Regions from separate parts of the Homo sapiens genome. Here all the other regions are linked to region 1. The links are contacts of gene promoters, found by promoter capture Hi-C in human tissues and cell types (Jung and others, 2019). All regions are on one chromosome and are shown on one strand. The core of a region is centred on a gene start or on the middle of the fragment in contact, and the rest is flanking DNA. Distances in the headings are between cores, read along the strand shown.

What was found. The method cuts DNA at HindIII sites, captures the fragments that hold promoters and counts their contacts. A contact is called where the count stands out against the background at its distance.
Region 2: a fragment that was not itself captured here is called in contact with the fragment with the promoter of SORCS3 in region 1 in 1 of the 25 tissues and cell types used here (mesendoderm cells).
Region 3: a fragment that was not itself captured here is called in contact with the fragment with the promoter of SORCS3 in region 1 in 1 of the 25 tissues and cell types used here (dorsolateral prefrontal cortex).
Region 4: a fragment that was not itself captured here is called in contact with the fragment with the promoter of SORCS3 in region 1 in 1 of the 25 tissues and cell types used here (lymphoblastoid cells).

What each region holds. Positions count from the first base shown.
Region 1 is chr10:104,639,981-104,642,680 of GRCh38, reverse strand. SORCS3 (sortilin related VPS10 domain containing receptor 3) reads right to left here and starts at 1,391. Exons shown (of 27, transcript NM_014978.3): 1 at 727-1,391. The coding sequence starts at 1,353. The HindIII fragment of the contact is 5,425 bases long and covers 1-2,700 here.
Region 2 is chr10:104,320,305-104,323,004 of GRCh38, reverse strand. All of the region lies in intron 1 of ITPRIP (inositol 1,4,5-trisphosphate receptor interacting protein), which reads left to right. Among named protein-coding and RNA genes, the nearest start is that of ITPRIP-AS1, 1.7 kb to the left of the region's middle. The HindIII fragment of the contact is 8,518 bases long and covers 1-2,700 here.
Region 3 is chr10:104,906,941-104,909,802 of GRCh38, reverse strand. The region is part of intron 2 of SORCS3 (sortilin related VPS10 domain containing receptor 3); the gene reads right to left. Among named protein-coding and RNA genes, the nearest start is that of SORCS3-AS1, 240 kb to the right of the region's middle. The HindIII fragment of the contact is 5,097 bases long and covers 1-2,862 here.
Region 4 is chr10:105,058,588-105,061,287 of GRCh38, reverse strand. All of the region lies in intron 5 of SORCS3 (sortilin related VPS10 domain containing receptor 3), which reads right to left. Among named protein-coding and RNA genes, the nearest start is that of SORCS3-AS1, 390 kb to the right of the region's middle. The HindIII fragment of the contact is 6,011 bases long and covers 1-2,700 here.

The sequences.
Region 1 (2,700 bases), core at 142-2,641:
GCGTGAGGGCGAGCGGTGTGGCATGAGCGCTGGATGGGTGTGGAATTTCGCTTCACGCTTTAAACTTTTTTTTACGGCCTCTGCTACGGCTTTCCAGGGCCGCTCCCTGGACTTTGAAGGAGGAACCGGGGTTACCTGAAGGCCAAGGCTGGGGGCCGACTTGGCCGAGCCTCCCTCTTGGGCTGGAGGACTGCGCGCCTGGAGCGGATAGCAGCGACCCCGAGGCGAGCAGGAGGCTGGGAGTCCGAATGGCCTTCCGGGTTCCCTTTCGCGTGACGGGAGGGGGGGTGGGGGTGGGGTGGGGGTAGGGGGAGCCCGGCAGCCGCAGGAATCGGTCTGTTCAGCGGCTCCCGCCCCAAGTCAGCCCTTTTTCTCATCCAAGAATTCAAGCACCCCGCAAACAGGAAAACTGACCCTCCAAGCCAAGTATTGGAGAAAGTGAGCACAGATCCCTCCCCCACTCATCTTTAAGAAGCCCCTTCCTCCACTCCCCTCCCGGCGGCCGAAGCCTAGGGTCTCCAGTAAACAAACACACACAGCGTCTAACAACAAACTCCGTTAACCTGTTGGGGGCGTGGGGGGAATCGGACAAACCTGTTATCTCGAAAAGTCGAGGCGTCCCCCGCCTCGACCCCCGAGCAACTATCTGTCCCTCGCTCCCACCCACCCCCCCATTCCCCTTCGGTGTCAGGAAACAGGCGGACCCGCCGCCGGGTGGGTACTCACGCTGCTGTTGTGTCCCGACCAGTGCACCATGGCTTGGTTGTGGGCCGAGTCCCCGGTCAGCGCGAAGGAGGTGCTGGGCAGCCGGAGGTCTTCAGCCGCCGACCCCCCAGCCCGCGGCGCCTTCACCTCCTCCCGGGAACCCTTAGCAAGGGGACGGCTTCCTCTGGAACCATCGGCCGGAGCAGTGGCCCAGGCGTCCCCGCGTTCCTGGGTGATTGGGGGCTGCGCCCGGCGACTCCTCCTCGCGCCGCCAAGCTTGGCAGGAGCTGGGATGCCCCGGCCCCGCCGCTCGCCTGCCGGTGATGTCCCTCCGGCTTCCACCTGCATCTCACCGCCTCTGCCGCCGCCCTGCTGGGGCAGCAGCTCTGGTCCGGCCCGGCGCCCCAGCACGGCGGCTCTCCGCGCCGACGCCAGCTCCTCCGGCCACTGGCTGGCCACTGCCCGCGGCGAGAGTGGAGACAACGCCGGTGGCCGCGAAGCCGGGGCCGCCGGGCGTCCGGGACCGCCTGTCGCGTCCCAAGTGATCTCGGCGCCGGCCAGGACCCACGTCGACAAGAGTAGGAGCCCCGTCCGGACAAGCGGCGCCCCCGGCCTGCCTGCGGGGCGCTCCGTGCGCGCCGCCTCCATCCCGCTGCGGCTACCGCGGCTCGGGCTGCCGAGTGTGTGGCGCCCGCCGAGGTGCGGGTCCGGCGCGGGGGGTGTGCGCGCGCCGGCGAGCGAGCGAGCGTGTGTGTGTAGGGGGAGTGGGGAGGGGGCGGCCGGGAAGGAGGTGGCTCCGGCTGGCGCGCCTCGCCGGTCCTCTCCACTCTTCCCTCCTAGCTCCCGCTCGCCCGTTCTCTTGTCCAGAGGGTGATTCCAAACCCGAGGAAAATTAATAATTGCCCCTTCGGTGCTTTCTTTCTTAAAATCAGATTCCCCCCAATCCTCCCCACTGAGCTCCTCCAGAAATTTGGTAAAAAGGAGTAATCAAAGGTAATAAGAAAATCTTCTTAAAATATGAAAATCAAGCCGGATCCAGGAGGGGCCGGCAATAGACCCCAATCCCGAGTCTCTCCGAAATCCAGCCTCCAACGTGCTCCCGGCGAAGAGTTGGGAGCCGCTTCTGGACGCGTTTGGGGGTTTACTCTTCGGGCCTGTTATGAGGGGCGGGAGATGGCGCGCGGGGAGGGTACAGGGGTCTCGGGGGAGAAGGAGGAGGAGTTGTGTGCTCAACGCCAACTGTTCGCGTTCTAGAGCCGAGAGGGAGCCAGGTGCCTCCGCGCGGGGAGGCTGCGCACGGAAGCCAAGCGCGGGATGCACCCTGGACTCTGCTCGCCGCTCCCTGGCCCGGCCGGCTCCCGGCCAAACCCCGCCACCCAAGGCCTGCGCCCCCGCGCGGGGGCGTGGGGAATGCGTGCGTGCGCGTGCGTGCGCGCAGGCAGGCGGGCGTGAGGCGAGGGGTTCGCAGGGGGCCGGCGGGCAGACCGGGCGCTGCCGCGTGGGGGCACCTGGCTGAGCCGGGCCGGGAGCGCGGCTGGGTGTGAGGGGGCGCGCGGTTCCGTGCGTGCGCGTTTGCACGAGCATGTGTGCACGTTAGTGTGAGCGATGGCAAGTGGGGCGGGGGCGGGAGGTGTGCGCTCGGCTTTTGGTCGCGTGCGGATCACGCACGGGCTGTGTTTGCATTTCCAGGAGCCTGCGAGTGGTCAAAGAGGCAATGCTGAGAACTAGGCAGGCCGCTCTCGGCAGCCCCCTCCTCTTGGCGCCCCGAGCACCCACGGCCCCCACTACAAGCGGTTAGAACCTGATAAAGCCTCCTAGGGGATGAGGGAAAAGAGGCGGAAGGCCCCGGTGGGATCGGGGACTTGCCAGATCTTCTCGGTTGAGGGATTCTCCTTGCCCCGACCTCCCGGCCAGAGGTGGGGCGAGAGAGTAGTCGAGATGTCTGTTCTTCCAGGGAGGATCCAGACCTCATTTTGCTGCCTAGGATTTTGAGGT
Region 2 (2,700 bases), core at 31-2,530, 320 kb after region 1:
TTGATTTCCCCCCAACAACTGTGTACCTCATCAGCTGGGGCTGAGAAACTGCAGCACAAGGCCAGGATACAGAAGGAGTTCAGCCCAAACTCATGGCAGTTTGGGCCTCCCTTGGCTCCTTCTTTCTTGGAGGACCCAGAACCTAGTGAAAGGGACCCAAGTCACCCCCAAGGCCTCGGCTAAAAGTGCCCTCCCCTGCCCTCAGCCAGTCCTTTATTCCATTTCGTAAAGGAAACCTATCAGCTACTCCTTTTGGCTCTGAACGTGACGCCAGGGCCAGGCCTTCTTTTGCTGTTGTAATTAGCAGAGCTAATTGCATCTGTCAGGCTGTGTGCTGGGCAAGCCCTTGGCAATTTCCAGGATGTGGGCTGCTGTGACACTGCAGGAGCCCCACCCTCCTACCCAGAGGACGCCTGGTTTGGGAAGGGATGGTTCTCAGACATAAGCGGGCATTAGAATGACCTAGAGGGCTTGTTGAGACACAGATACTGGGCCCAGCCCTGGCATTTCTGATCAGCGGGTTTCAGGTTGCCTGTGAAAATTTGCATTTGTAACAAGTTGCCAGGTGGCACTGTTGCTGCTAAGCACGTTGAGAACCACTGTCCCAGAGGGAATACCAGGTGGCCAAGAAATGGGTCCTGGGCACCCCTGCTGCTTAAGGCTGTGGTCAGTCAACCCTCAGTGGGAGTAGATGGGCAGTGGGGCAAAAGCGGTGTGATGAACAGGTTGTGGGGCCGGACACATGCTCCTACTGTTCCTGGTTGGTTGTAGTAATTCTGTCTGGAAGGAGAGGAGGAGGTGAAGGTGGAGCCAAGGAGTTGCACACTGACATCTCCCCAACAGGTGAGGGCAGGGAGAGCTCCAGACAGGGAGAGGCCTTCAGAGAACAGGAAGGAAGCTCCCTCCCTCCTCTGCATTTTGCAGCCTGTAGCTCACGTGCCTTTTATGCCCCACATCTCATTCTGTCTGGGGACTCCATACGTAGTGGCTGTCTACCTTCCCGCGTGGATTGTAATGCTTTTGCTACCAGGGGTCAGGCCATACTCATCACTGCAGGCCCTGAAGCATCCATCATGTTCCTCGAGCTCAGTATGTGCTCCGTACATGTAGCACAGTGGAAAAACTTGAGCTTTGCTGGCAAAGACAGACAGAATGAGCTTGAATCTCAGCCCAGCTATGGCTTTTCTAGTCCTGTGGCTAGAAAATGACTTAGCCTCTTGGACTTTGGTTAACCCATCTGCAAAACAGGGATGGCACCCACCTCTTAGAAAGTTACAGTGGTCAAAAAAAAAAAAAAAAAAGAAAAGAAAAGAAACTTACAGTGGTTAGTGTGTGCAGTGCCCAGCACATCCTAGTGAGGGCTCGAGAAATGGGAGAGCTATGGGTGTTAGGCAATGCTTTGTGGTGTTTATTGGATTAAGCTATGGTGGGGAGTGCTGCAGGCTCTGGGGGACCCAGGAGTGAGGGACCCCAGTGAAGGAAGGAAGCCTTGGATTTCTCCCAGGGTCTTGGCTTCCGGCCAGCCTCACAGTAAAGGTCTGAATAAACCACTGGTCCCAGCCAGCCACCTGCAGCCCTCTGTCCGGGCCACCCAGAAGCTTCCATCTTCCCTCAGCCCCTGTTGCCCCGTGACTCCAGCGTTGCCAGGCTAAGTTTAGCTGTGAACTGCATGGGCCGCCCCTCTCTGTGGACAAGGGCAGAGGTGGAGAGGAATTCAGCAGGCTTCCTGGCAAGCAGACAGAAAAAAGCCCGCCAAGTGACCCAGGTTTATTCTCAAAGCCAAACCCACCAGCTGATGTCTCAGACCACAGGTGCGGGAGAGCCTGGTAGAGGTGAGAACTTTGGGCCAAGGCAGAGGTGGACATCCTTGGAATTGGGAGTAGGGGACTCTTTGGGGAGGCATGTGCTGGTATGTGCAAGAACATGCACACATATACACATATCCATGGTTTGTGAGAGGCTCCTCACTACCCGTCCTGTCTCAGAATGTCAGAATGCCCTGTTTCCTTCCCTTTTGTGGACAAGTCAACTCTATACAATATTTGAAGGGATTTATTCTGAACCCATCTGAATGACCAAGGCCTGAGGCACAGTCCCAAGAGATCCTGAAAATATGTGCCCCAGACAGTTGGGTTACAGCTTGATGTTACACATTTTAGGGGGACAGAAGTTACAGGCAGGCCAGGTGCTCACACCTGTAATCCCAGCACTTGTGATCCCAGGCAGATCACTTGAGGTCAGGAGTTCGAGACCAGCCTGGCCAACATGGTGAAAACCTGTCTCTACTAGAAATATAAAAATTAGCCGGGCATGGTGGGGCATGCCTGTAGTCCCAGCTACTCAGGAGGCTGAGGCAGGAGAATTGCTTGAACCTGGGAGGCAGAGGTTGCAGTAAGCTGAGATCCCTCCACTGCACTCTAGCCCAGGCGACAGAGTGAGACTTAGTCTCAAAAAAAAAAAAAAAAAAAATTACAGGCAGACCTCCATCAATGCATGTGTAAGGAATATGTTAGTTTGGTGTGGAAAGATGGGACAACTTGAAGTGAGGGCAAGGAGTGGCTTCCTGGTCATAGGTGGATTCAAAGATTTTCTGACTGGCAATTGGTTGAACGAGTTAAGTTATTATCTAAAGACCTGGAATCAGTAGAAAGGAGTGTCTAGGATAAGGGGTATGGAGACCATGGTTCTTACTATGTAGCT
Region 3 (2,862 bases), core at 201-2,700, 270 kb before region 1:
GAAAAAAAAAAAAACAGAAAAGACATCCAGTCGATGCAGCCAAGTCAGCCTCTCAGTAGAGCTGAACTGCAGCTCAACCTCCCTGTCCTAATGCCCCATTCTGGCCAGAGATAGACACTCTGCCAGCTCTCACGGGGCCATCTGATGTTCTCAATCTGGGTGAGCACATGGCTTTCCTTATCCAGTCAGCACCTTCTTCTGGTGTTTACCACCCTGGTCCTCAGTCCTCTCCTCATTTCTTCTCCTCTTCTTGCCCCTGAGCTCTGCAAAATTAAGGATCATTAACCCTGGCATCTTTCACCAGTCAGAAGTCATCTCCTCAGTGGCCTGCCTTCTGAGGGATACAATCTAAAACTGGCAAACAATCTAAAATTGGCAAACAACCACAGTTGTGGTTGTTCCTTTCCTCTCAGCAACTTCTGCGTTGCCATGTTTGGCTCATTCCTTTGCATATATTTATCAACCACGGCATCTGACATGGGCTAGGCACACTGTGCTTTGCTTCCCCTTTCCGGCCATTTAAAGTAGCTCTAGCTCAGGTTGGCAAACTTTTTTTTCCTGTAAAACAACCAGATAGTAAATATTTTGGGTTTTGTGGACCTCCGCCACAACTACTCAACTCTGACCTTTTGCAGCTCCAAACAAGCCAAGCACAATAGCAAAATGAAAGGGTGCTTTTGCAAAAGCAGGAGGGGTATGATTTGGTGGTGCTGCTCTAGCTGGTATCAGCTAGAGGTAGAGAATATCAGCCTCCACCTCTGTCCCACCCCCGAGTCATGTTCTCACCCTGCTTTTGTCTCTAAGACAACTTCTCAAGATTTCTGCCTGGATCTCTGATACCCTAGAGCATCCTTCCCTGCCTGGCTGCCACATCAGGTCAAACATCTGCCTCTGTCTGGCATTCAAGGCCTTCGTAGTTTACCTGCTTTGCTTTACCATTGCCTCCAATGTTCAGATTGTCTCCTTTTTTACTCCCAGCTCCAGTACTCATTGTACTACAAAGATCTTTCCTATAATTCCCACCCACGCCCTCCTCTGCATTTACACCAATTGCACCTAAGAGCTCCCTATTTATTCTCTGAATATACATGTGTGCTTTTGATATTTTCAGCAATTGCTAAAAGCTTCTCAAAAGAACAGTCACAAATGAATTTTTTTTTTAATTTCTGAAAGTGCAGAGCACAGTTCTACATAAAGAAAACAAGCAGACTGGAGTAGTACAAAGACAACTAGACTCAGAGCCAGATCTAGCTGTGCAAGCTTTTCATGTCTCTGAACCTCAGCTCAGACAATAGAGTTGTTGTTATTCAGATTCAATGAAGAGTAATAAGATACCTAGCTTAGCATCTGCTAAAAGCCCTTGTTCCATAAATGCTTATGGCTGTCATTTTTATGAATACCCCTGATTGTATTGTCCTCAAGGGAAATCACCTTGTTTTCTTTTTCTTGATTTGCACTACTTACACTTAATAGGGGTGAGGCACACGGATACCCAATAAATCATTAAAGGATCTGTGGACACTGTTTCCAATTGTCACCATAAGTGTATGATAAGACCCAGTTGCCTGGAGAATCAAAAGATACAACTATGCTTCCAAGTGCCAGGCCTTGGGGAGCACCCACTAGCAGCTCCTTCAGGTGTACTCCACTGAGATACACTGAGGATTGTCAACAATCAAAGACCATAGGCTATTAGGTGCTCTGGTGTGTGGTGAACCACAGCCCATTCCAAGGTCAGCGTCAGGAGTTCCCACAGCACAGCTCCAGACCAAAGACTTCTCAGAGAGTTGTGATGGAAAAGCATTAATGTTTCCCTCTGGCCTATTCCACTCCTCATTTTAGGGCCAGTGCCCAAAGTCACATTAATCTGTATCTTTGCAATGGCAGAAGCCCAGCCTGACCACAAATAACCATCCAGATAACTAATTTCAGACCTCAAGCCAAAAGTAAGTCATTTAAACAGCTTCATTCTCCAAGTGGGTATTGCCCCACCCTCTGCTTCAGAAACTCCACAGGAAGGTTGATGCCAGTGCAGAAGCTTACACAGCTCTCCCTGACCTCTTTTTACCCAACTCATGGCTGCATTGTTTAGTCTCACAAAGAGAGGCACAATGATACAGGATAATTAATTCGTCTCTATTTCCTCCTGCCCCCACTATTTGAATGAGAGCCATCACCGGTTCTAAATGCGGAAAATTGGAGGTTTGCTGTCTTTGGAGACCAGTCATGCAGAATTCATGGTTCGGATCAGATAAGTTGTAGACCCACCAGCAGCAGCTTCCCAGCACACGTCTCAGGTAGGACAGAGGCTGAAGTATATGGGGTTGGGCCAATATTCAGATCTTCAGTTTCTTTCTTTTCCTTTCTTTATTTGGTGTGAACACATTAGTTCTCACTGAAGACCTTCAGTTCAGAAAATAGGATGGTGAGTTGTTATATTTAGGTTTTAAAATGCCAAAAACTCTAACCTATCAGGCAAAAGACCTATTTGTATCATGCACGTAAGGGAAGGAAAGAAGCCCTCCAGGGAAAAGAAAGTGCACAAACAGGCCCATGAGAAGGTATGACAGCCCATAATTCACTGCATCTCTGTTGATATGAACATAACTGAATAACAATTATCAGGGAAAGGCTAAATAGAGTGTATTACACACACACACACACACACACACACAGTACTATACAGCAGCATTCAAGAGTAAGACAGATACCAGAGTTATTGACCTGAAAAGTCTCTAAGACATAATACTAAATATATTACACACACACAGTATATCCAGACACAACAAGGCAATACATTTCCATTAAGTTTATAAGCGTGTAAACAAATACATATAAAATCTAGTGGAAAATATATAAAAC
Region 4 (2,700 bases), core at 80-2,579, 420 kb before region 1:
ACTTAAAACATCTCTCCCACCCTACCTCACCCCCACAAAACAAACACAAAACTACTCAGAGAACTTTCTTCAGTGCTTTCTTACCCTGGGAGAAATGATACCTAAGTCCAGAGCACAGCTTTCCAACAAATGTGTAAATATTATGCTGAATTTGAGCCCTTGTTTAAAAAATTATTTGTAAAGTCTATAAATTGGTGGCCACCATAACTTGTGAATTTGTTTCCAAGTAGAACTCTAGTTTCTAGATGTTACACATTACAGGAAACATTTTAAGACTGCAAACGAATTTGAATTTATTTTCTATACTTAAATTGTTTTTAACTTTTTTGTTTGTTTTTTTTTTTTGTTTTAAGACGGAGTTTCACTCTTGTTGGCCAGGCTGGAGTGCAATGGCGTGATCTCAGCTCACCACAACCTCCGCCTCCCGGGTTGAAGGGATTCTCCTGTCTCAGGCTCCCGAGTAGCTGGGATTATAGGCATGTGCCACCATGCCCAGCTAATTTTATATTTTTAATAGAGACGGGGTTTCTCCATGTTGGTCAGGCTGGTCTTGAACTCCTGACCTAGGTGATCCGCCTGCCTCAGCATCCCAAAGTGCTAGGATTACAGGTTTGAGCCACCGCGCCCAGACTTTTTAACTTTTTTAAATTGCAAACCACATCTTCTAGAATTCCCTGGATTTCCATCTTCTCTTTCCAGGACTCACTGCCCCCAGTAATGAATAGCCTTTTAATTGGCCACCTCGTCCCCAGCTCTTCCTTGTGTAATTTGCCCTTCACCCTGCTGTAAAAATGAGCTTCCTAAAGACCAGTCCTGAGCATGCTCTGCCCCTGAGTGGAACCCTTTAAAGGTGCACTGTATTAACTGCAAAATCTTTAGCCTGGCATTTAAAGCCTCTAAGTTATCACTTTAATCTTCTTTTCTAGGCTTATCGGCCAATCTCTCTCTCTCCAAGCATAGAATCCGAACTTCTTGACAGACTGACCTACTAACAATTTCCTAAACACACCTCATGCTTTTCTGTTTCTCTTCTTTCTCCTTCCTGTGACTGAAATGTCCGCCATTACCCACCATGCCAGAGGATCCACAAGCACGCACACAAGCTTGCCTGTTGAAATTGAAACCATCTTTCAAACCCCCCTCAAATTCCAACTCCTCCATGAACACATTACTGATGCCACTCCTCTGACACCTCTATCACAGGCTGTATCTGTCTCCTGGTACCTAACAATCCTTTGTATCAGCCATTTGTCCAGTTGTCTCAACTTGTCTTTGTCCTACTGTATCAGCTTAGCTTTTGCTGCATAATAAACTACCTCAACATTCAGCAGCTTAAACCAACAGTTATGTATTTTGCTGGTACATCTAAGGCCAGCTGGGATCAGCTTTTCTAGGCTGGGCTCAATGCGAGGCTCTGCTTCATGCTATGAATCCAGCAGAGCTTGGCATCCCATAGAGGGGAAGGCTCAGGTTGCTCTGTGGGTTCGTGATGGGGCCTGGGGTGAGGGGCCACAGCTACAGTGCAATGACAGAGCTTCCGCTTGTGTCACATTTGCTAAACTCAGCCAAAGCAAGTCACATGGATGATCCCAAGCCAAGGGATTGGGGAAATTCTCACTGCATACAGTGGAAAAACACTGAGAGTCCCATGGCAATGGGCTTGAATGCATAATTTATTACCTTAGAGAGAGTCAGAAATTGGAACAACCCCTACCTACCGTCCTTCATATCCCTTTCTATGTATACACTGTTCAAAGAGTAGGGACTCAAAAGTGTCTTTTCAATGGAATTCCTAAGTACATCTAAACAGGCATAGATAAAATCAGTAACCTCATTCATGTCATAATGTTAATAAAAACTACAGGCATTATTTTAATAAAGTCTAAAACAATATAGCATTTTACAGTTATGAAGCATTTTAAAGATTCTTTGCAGCCTGCAAAGCACACGGAAGTATATTATCTCATCTAGCAGGGAGTGTATGTATTTTGAAAAGATGCCTGGAGGTGCCAATGTCTTCATTGGTTGGAACAACCCTTTCCACTGTGTATTTCAAGCACGGTGGAGAAAAGAGGGGGTTTTTGATAAGGGGGAACCAGTTTGTACTACTCAAAGGGGAACACCTGGGACTCCACTAATTTGTCTCCCTGGTTTTCAAAATGACCTCTTAACTACCTCCTCTGGTTCTCAAAATCTAGTGTACAAAGGCATTGCCAGGAGAGCTTGTTCAGATGGAGATTCCTGAGGCCCAGGTCCAGAGATCCAGAGCAGGGATTTCCAGGTGGGGCCGAAGAAACTATCGGCATTTTTAAAATTTCTTTTTATTTGTGCAAAGTTGTGGGGTACATAATTTTTACATGTATATGATGCATAGTGACTGAGGATATTTAGGGCATCCCTCACCCAAGTACAATATATTTTTTAAGTATAGTTATTCTACTCTATTCTATTGAACATTGCATTTATTCCTTCTATCTAGAGTCTGCATTTTTAGCAAGCACCTCAGGTATTCACTGCCGGTTCTCCCTTGGTCATCACCCCTTTGAATTTTACAGATGAGGATGCAGAAAGCCAGAGAAATCCTACTAGTGCCCCAAGGCCTGGCTGCCCAGTGGCAGGAGTAGAATTAGCAACCAGAAGTCCTGTCTCCTACTCCAATGCTCTTTCCATTACACTGCAGAGTCCATGAAGTGTTTTCTT